Linked DNA regions of Homo sapiens: region 1 is linked to region 2. The links are contacts of gene promoters, found by promoter capture Hi-C in human tissues and cell types (Jung and others, 2019). All regions are on one chromosome and are shown on one strand. The core of a region is centred on a gene start or on the middle of the fragment in contact, and the rest is flanking DNA. Distances in the headings are between cores, read along the strand shown. Region 1 overlaps ZNF257 (zinc finger protein 257). Region 2 holds the start of ZNF714 (zinc finger protein 714).

Region 1 (3,595 bases), core at 237-2,736, 1.0 Mb before region 2:
AGTTGGCTACAGTTAGGTGAGTAAAAATCTGTAGACTAAACTGTACCTACTAAAAAAAAGTCATATAAAAGAATATGGGCTGAGCGCAGTGGCTCATGCCTGTAATCCCAGTACTTTGGGAGGCCGAGGCGGATCTCAAGGTCCGGAGTTTGAGACCAGCCTGACCAACATGGTGAAACCCCGTCTCTACTAAAAATACAAAAGTTAGCCGGGCATGGTGGTGTGCACCTGTAATCCCAACTACTCAGGAGGCTGAAGCAGGAGAATCGCTTGAACCTGGGAGGAGGAGGTGGCAGTGAGTTGATATCATGCCAGTGCACTCCAGCCTGGGTGACGGAACGAGACTCCATCTCAAAAAAAAAAAAAAGAGTGGAATTTCTCCAAATTGTTTTATCAAGATGTAAAATAAATATTATTCCAAATTTCAGATCCACAGGTCATTGTACTGTTTTGCCACATTCAACATTCACACTTAAAAATATAAGATTCTGCCAGTCACAGTGGCTCACGCCTATAATCTCAGCACTTTGGGAGGCCGAGGCGGGTGGATCACCTGAGGTCAGGAGTTTGAGACTAACCTGGCCAACATGGCGAAACCCCATATCTACTAAAAATACAAAAATTAGCTGGGCGTGGTGTAATTCCAGCTACTTGGGAGGCTGAGGTAGGAGAATCGCTGGAATCTGGGGGATGGAGGTCACAGTGAGCCGACATTGGGCCACTTCACTCCAGCCTGGGAGAGAGAGTGAAACTCTGTCTCAAAAAAAGAAAAAAAAAAAGATTCTGCATAGAAACATAAGTTGTGCTATAAATATATCATAGAAAATTAAATTTAAAATTGTTCATTTACCATTAACTCTATTTAGAATCTAATTTCTGAAATATTTTTACAAATTTTATATTTGCCATGCTTTTTGCAAGAATAAAACTTTTTTTTTTTACAAAGAAAAAGCTAACTGATGTAATCTTTTCACTTGTTAACAGTGTATGTCTATTCTCTTAATTGACTAATCTGAAAGTTTTATTGATAAGCAAATTCTTCAGTTAAAACCAATTTTTCAATGCATTAAAAATACCAACTTTCTCATGAGAACCCACAAACTACCATGTAAAATGACATGGCATGAAGACAACAATGAGAAAACTGTAGTCATAACACAGTAAAAGAAGAAAGACTGTGATGCATATATAGTTGGAATACACTAAGTAAGACAAAACTGAAGATCAGTAGAAAATAAAAGCAGCAGAATTTGTGTTTAAATTCAGCAAGTCAGCTTTGCAGCCTGAAAATGTCCTCTCCACATGATGAATCAATGTTATTTCTTCACCATTGCTATTTTCCATCTCTGACTTGAAGTTACAAACTAACTCCAGCAAAAATATTTATGACTTATTATAAAGCATGTTTTACTCAGAAGAACTGTCATATTTGTTTGCTACATTTATATGTAAAAACATCCTCATGACTTATGAAGTCTCCCTAGTACTTACCAAAGCAAATTAGCTCACTCAATAGATTTACTTATGTCAATTATAAAAAGTGAAAGAAACAATAAAGAAAATTAGCCTTATACAGGTTTCTCCAATAAAACAAAAATCAAACGTTAAAATATAACAATATAACTATTATATAAAAACTAACTTATATAAAAATATAACTAATTTTGTAATTACATCTAAAAATTATTTTGTGTGCACTCTTAAATTTCATAAAAATCATTCTTATAATCCCTGACCAGCTCACATAATGAGTACTTCATAAAATACAAAACAAGAACATTATGGGTCTAGCATGAGTACCAGACAAGTAAAAACAGAGAATGTGCATAGGGAGATTCTGAACTATAAGCCCTAACATTTTATAGCAATGAATTCAATACAATGCACAGAGTATAGATTTGCTTTCAACATTTTCGAGGTTTTTAGTTTTCTAATAAGTCACCTTATTAAAATAATTTGTTTTGTTCCAATATTGCTTTCTCCTTCCAAAAATGGGTACAAACTCATACTCATACACACTTACTTCATAATTTTCTTACACCTAAGGTTTATCTTTAGAGTAATATATGTATATGTTTAACTCTATGTAAATCAAAACTAAAAGCCTATATGTGTTTGCAGGCAGAGATAAATCATGTTCAAAGAAAAATATGTAACAAATTCTTTAAATATTTATTCAGTACTTAGAAATGTATCAATTTTATTTATACTTCTATATAAATTTTATTATGACCATAAAAATGACCCTGTAGTCAGAACAATTGCAAATTTTAAAATAAAGTACTTTTAATATTTTAAAATAACAATATTTTTATTTTACTAATCAAATTGTTTGTAATAAAAAGGATAAATGCTAGAGGTGATGGATGCCTCATTTATCCTGATGTAACTATTATATATTATATGCCTGTACCAAAATATGCCATATATGGCATAAATATATACACATACTGTGTAACCACAAAATTAAAAAGAATAAATTTAAGAAAAAAAGGATAAAAATGTAACCTATGGGAAAAATATTTTTTAACTTATTTGCAATTTGAAGCCATTGGCAGAAGAGATTACTAGAGGTGTTATTCCACTATGTTGCCAAATAGCATATTGTTACCATATTTTACCTACACCCTTGAGTAAGGTGGGGTATGTTAAAGTTAGTGGAATAATAATACTCCACTGAATGCACAAGTCTTTTTTTTTTTTTTTTTTTTGAGACGAAGTCTTGCTCTTGTTGCCTAGGCTGGAGTGCAATGTCGTGATCTTGGCTCACTGCAACCTCTGCCTCCTGGGTACACGTGATTCTCTTGCCTCAATCTCCCAAATAGCTGGGATTTCAGGCACCCACCACCATGCCTGGCTAATTTTTTGTATTTTCAGTAGAGACAGGGTTTCACCATGTTGGCCAGGCTGGTTTCAAACTCCTGGCCTCAATTGATCCGCCCGCCTCAGCCTCCCAAAGTGTTGGGATTACAGGCGTGAGCTACTGTGCCCGGCCTGAACGTACAATAGTCTTAACGTGGTAAAAGAAAATATTTAATTATAAATTAAGTCCACAAATAATCTAAAAATTTTAAAATGTACTGCATTTTATTAAATAAAAGTACAATCACTAACATTATATGGTACTATTTTAATTTTAACTTACATTTAACTAAAATTAAAAATGTTTTTCTCTCATAACATGAGCAACTACTTCATACATCACTAAGTTAACCACAAAGAACCTCTTCACTTAGACTCTTATGCATCTTATATTTCAGTGTCCTTACTATTTTATAGAAGAGGTCGTATATAATTCCCACCTAATAAAGTATCTCTCATATCTCTGATGCAGCAATAGTTGATCACATGCTTTCACAGGTGAATACAATAGAAATGAAGAAACAGCATGAAGTAATTTGAGAGTTGACTTACATCATTATTTACTTTTAAAAAGCTTTATAATTTTATCAAAAAAGTATACTTGAATTTAATTATGACTTCTCAAAGAAATGTCTACTCATTTTAAAGTTACATAAAATTAATTTACTTACCAACTGTAGTTTTGGATTTTCTATACTCAGCAATCTGATTTAGTGTAATGTCTGAAGTGTCA
Region 2 (3,291 bases), core at 560-3,059:
CCTTGAGAGGATACACTCCAGACCTCAGGTCGCCCTATGGAAGAAAATAAACCAGAAGCTGATATTCACTAGGCACTTTAGCTGACATAACCATGGTGGATATCTTGGTTGATCCCCAGACAGTACTGAAACCCACGACCAGAAAAAAACTAAAGGGTGGCTGAGGACACATCACCTCATAAAGGTTTCAAAGGAATACCTTGACCCAAAAACATTCTGACAAGATCTTTGTACCTAGAGAAGATACAAGGAGAAGAGGCACAGAGAAATTTTACAATACAGTGTCAGGGGATTATTCTTTGCTTTCTTCTCATGGGAAAGTTACAAACAGGTAACAAACCTTTTAAAAAGCGTCATTTAAAGCTTTGTCAAAAAATAATTAATTAAAATATGGTATACAAAAGTACACTAAAAGACAAACAGGTGATAACGTGAATTAGGGAGGAAAAGCTGGCATTAGGGAATGCCAGGAGGAACTGGAAATTTAATATCTTACTGCAAGCCAGAGTGAGGCTGGAGATATGGGGGACGGGAGGTTAGATTTAAGACAGTGCTTGGGACACAGTTGAAAAATGCACCAGAAAATCAGTTCCCCATGGAGTGTGAAAATAATTAAGCGGCGGGAAATTAGACTGAGGTGTCTCTAGTCCCTGGATTCCTACTTTTAAAAAAATCTGGCTGGGCGCGGTGGCTCACGCCTGTAATCCCAGCACTTTGGGGAGGCCGTGGAGGGCAGATCACCTGAGGTCGGGAGTTCGAGACCAGCCTGACCAACATGCAGAAACCCGTCTCTACTAAAACCACAAAATTAGACGGGCGTGGTGGCGCATGCCTGTAATCCCAGCTACCTGGGAGGCTGAAGCATTGGATCGCTTGAACCCGGGAGGCAGAGGTTACGGTGAGACAAGATCGCCCCATTGCACTCCAGCCTGGGCAACAAGAGCGAAACTCCATCTTAAAAAAAAAAAATCTAACTGAGGTGCATTTTTAGTAAATTACTACATTGAGAGAAACAAAATTCATCCTTAACCAACTATAAACTGCCAATTAACATCTAATTACATAACCAGGAAATTTTCACCTTTATTTTACAAATTAAGAAACTATGTATCTGAACCTAACCAATTACTGAATTTGGTTTTCTTCATCATGCTGTTTATAAAAGTCTTTACTTCAAGCCCCGCCCATAAACCATAAATTACAAACCACAGCTGGGTGCTCCACAATTTTTGAATCACGCTTTGATTAAATGCTTTAGTGTTTTAACGGTGACTCCCATACATTTTCAACAGAAGAGGAACTGGAACCCCACGGACCCATTCATAAACCCGCACCCCGAGTCAGGATTCTACCCCTGGGACCCTCCAGTGGTCCCTGCACAATCCGGGAGAGACGCGCCGCTGAGGGTCCAGAGCTGCCCTGAGAGGACTCCAGGTCAGGGCCCAGTCACTGCGCAGGGAAAAGACAGGACGCCCGGGATCCCGCAGTCAGCGCAGCCGCCATCTTATGGCTGAAGGGGACTGAGGCCGAGCTGAGCAAGGAGAACTCCGGGCGCAGATTGTAGAGTTGACTGCGGGGAGGCCTAAGTCCCACCACAGCCACTTCCCACCGCTTACAACCCGCCCCTTCCCCTCTCTCGGGATGTCGGACCCGGCACTCTCACCATTTCTAGGCTTCCGGGGTACCTGGCGTCTTAGCTGTGGATCTCTCAATACCTGCAGGTCACAGGGCCACAGAGGCTGGGCCTCTGCGAGCAGAGGACACAGGGCAGTGAAGGCGAGACCTGCAGCTCCAGCTGCAGCGAGAGACAAAGGCCCCGCCACATCCCCGAAGCCGTCCTGTCCGCTCCAGCTGCAGGCCTGATTGGACGGTTCCCAACCCAGCGTCGCTGATTGGATAACTTTTAAAACCCCACCTTCTCGTGCCCTGAGTGACAGAAGATGTGATCAGTTGCTGGGCTGAGTGAAGAAAGGGTGACAGCCTAGGCTGCAGCCTTCTCAGGCAGGGCTTCCTCCCAGAGCTGAGCCAGGCCCACCCCAGAGGGAATTTGCCTTTAAACTTGTGTGTAAAGTCATATGCATTTATAAATAATATATGGCTCTTCACAAAGGAAAAAATATAATTTTATAATAACAATTATTTTAAAATTTCAGATTTTATGACCTTCCTGGCTTCTTTCTGGTCTTTGAGCAGGCAGGCTGAGATTTTAGAAAGGAGGTAATCCTCTGAAATAAAATGTGAGCCATATGTGAATTTTAAGTTTTCTAGTAGCCAAACTTGAAAAAGAAACAAGAACAGGTTGAATTGATTGTAACAATTTAATTAACCCAATATATCAAAAAAATTTTCATTTTAATGTGTGAGAAATATGTAATTATTAATAAAGTATATAAATATTTGGAACTAAATCTTTGAAACTAACTCTGTATTTTACCTTTCTAGCATCGCACTTCAGACCAGGCGCCACACATGGCCAATAACTGCCACATTGAAGTGCAGCTCTGATGTCAGCGGTGTGAAGGGCCCAAGCAAACCTTTTCTGCCAGAGGTGAAGGAAGAGCCTCTCCCTACCAACATCTCTCTTCCGTTCCGGGGGTGGAACAGATAGTGGCCAAAGAAAGAGGAGACGGCAGCAGGAATAAAATAATTACAAGTAAAGCACTGCTGGATGAGATCACAGGCGCGCGCCACCATGCTCGGCTAATTTTTTGTATTTTTAGTAGACACGGGGTTTCACCATGTTGGCCAGGCTGGTCCTGAACTCCTGACCTCAGGTGATCTGCCCGCTTTGGCCTCCCAAAGTGTTGGGATTACAGGCGTGAGCCACCGCACCCAGCCTCAAAATGTTTTTTCTTTCTTTTTTTTTAATTTTAAAAAATGATGGGAACATGTCAAAGGGAGCCAGCCTGAAAGAACTCCCAATGGTCCATCCTGGAACAATGTTAGCATCCAAATGAATAATTAGAGCACTGACCTATAAAATAAATCAAGTCAAATAAATAAATACCCATGCATTTACACTGATACACAAAAAACTTTAAATAAATAAAAAAGAAAAAAGGATAGGGAAATTTTTTTTTACAGAATTCCAAATACTAATCAACATAGATAAAATGCTAAAGAAACCATCACAAAACCACCAGTTATTATTGTATCCAAGGTTAACTGAGGAGTGTAAAAATTGTAAATAACACTTAAAAAATAAGCATTGTATTTGCATAGCACCAAAGTATCTGACTAAATTGTACCCTTCAGTTTTAAAGCAACCTATCACTATTAAAAGCAACAATT

Evidence for each region. Contacts are between HindIII fragments. The study calls those that stand out against the background at their distance.
Region 1: a contact is called between a fragment that was not itself captured here and the fragment with the promoter of ZNF714 in region 2, in 1 of the 25 tissues and cell types used here (hippocampus).

The regions. Positions count from the first base shown.
Region 1 is chr19:22,090,577-22,094,171 of GRCh38, reverse strand. ZNF257 (zinc finger protein 257) reads right to left here. Exons shown (of 4, transcript NM_033468.4): 4 at 2,692-3,595. Among named protein-coding and RNA genes, the nearest start is that of ZNF257, 40 kb to the right of the region's middle. The HindIII fragment of the contact is 8,109 bases long and covers 1-3,595 here.
Region 2 is chr19:21,080,721-21,084,011 of GRCh38, reverse strand. ZNF714 (zinc finger protein 714) reads right to left here and starts at 1,809. Exons shown (of 5, transcript NM_182515.4): 1 at 1,664-1,809; 2 at 1-34. RefSeq lists an enhancer at 1,321-1,470. The HindIII fragment of the contact is 9,806 bases long and covers 167-3,291 here.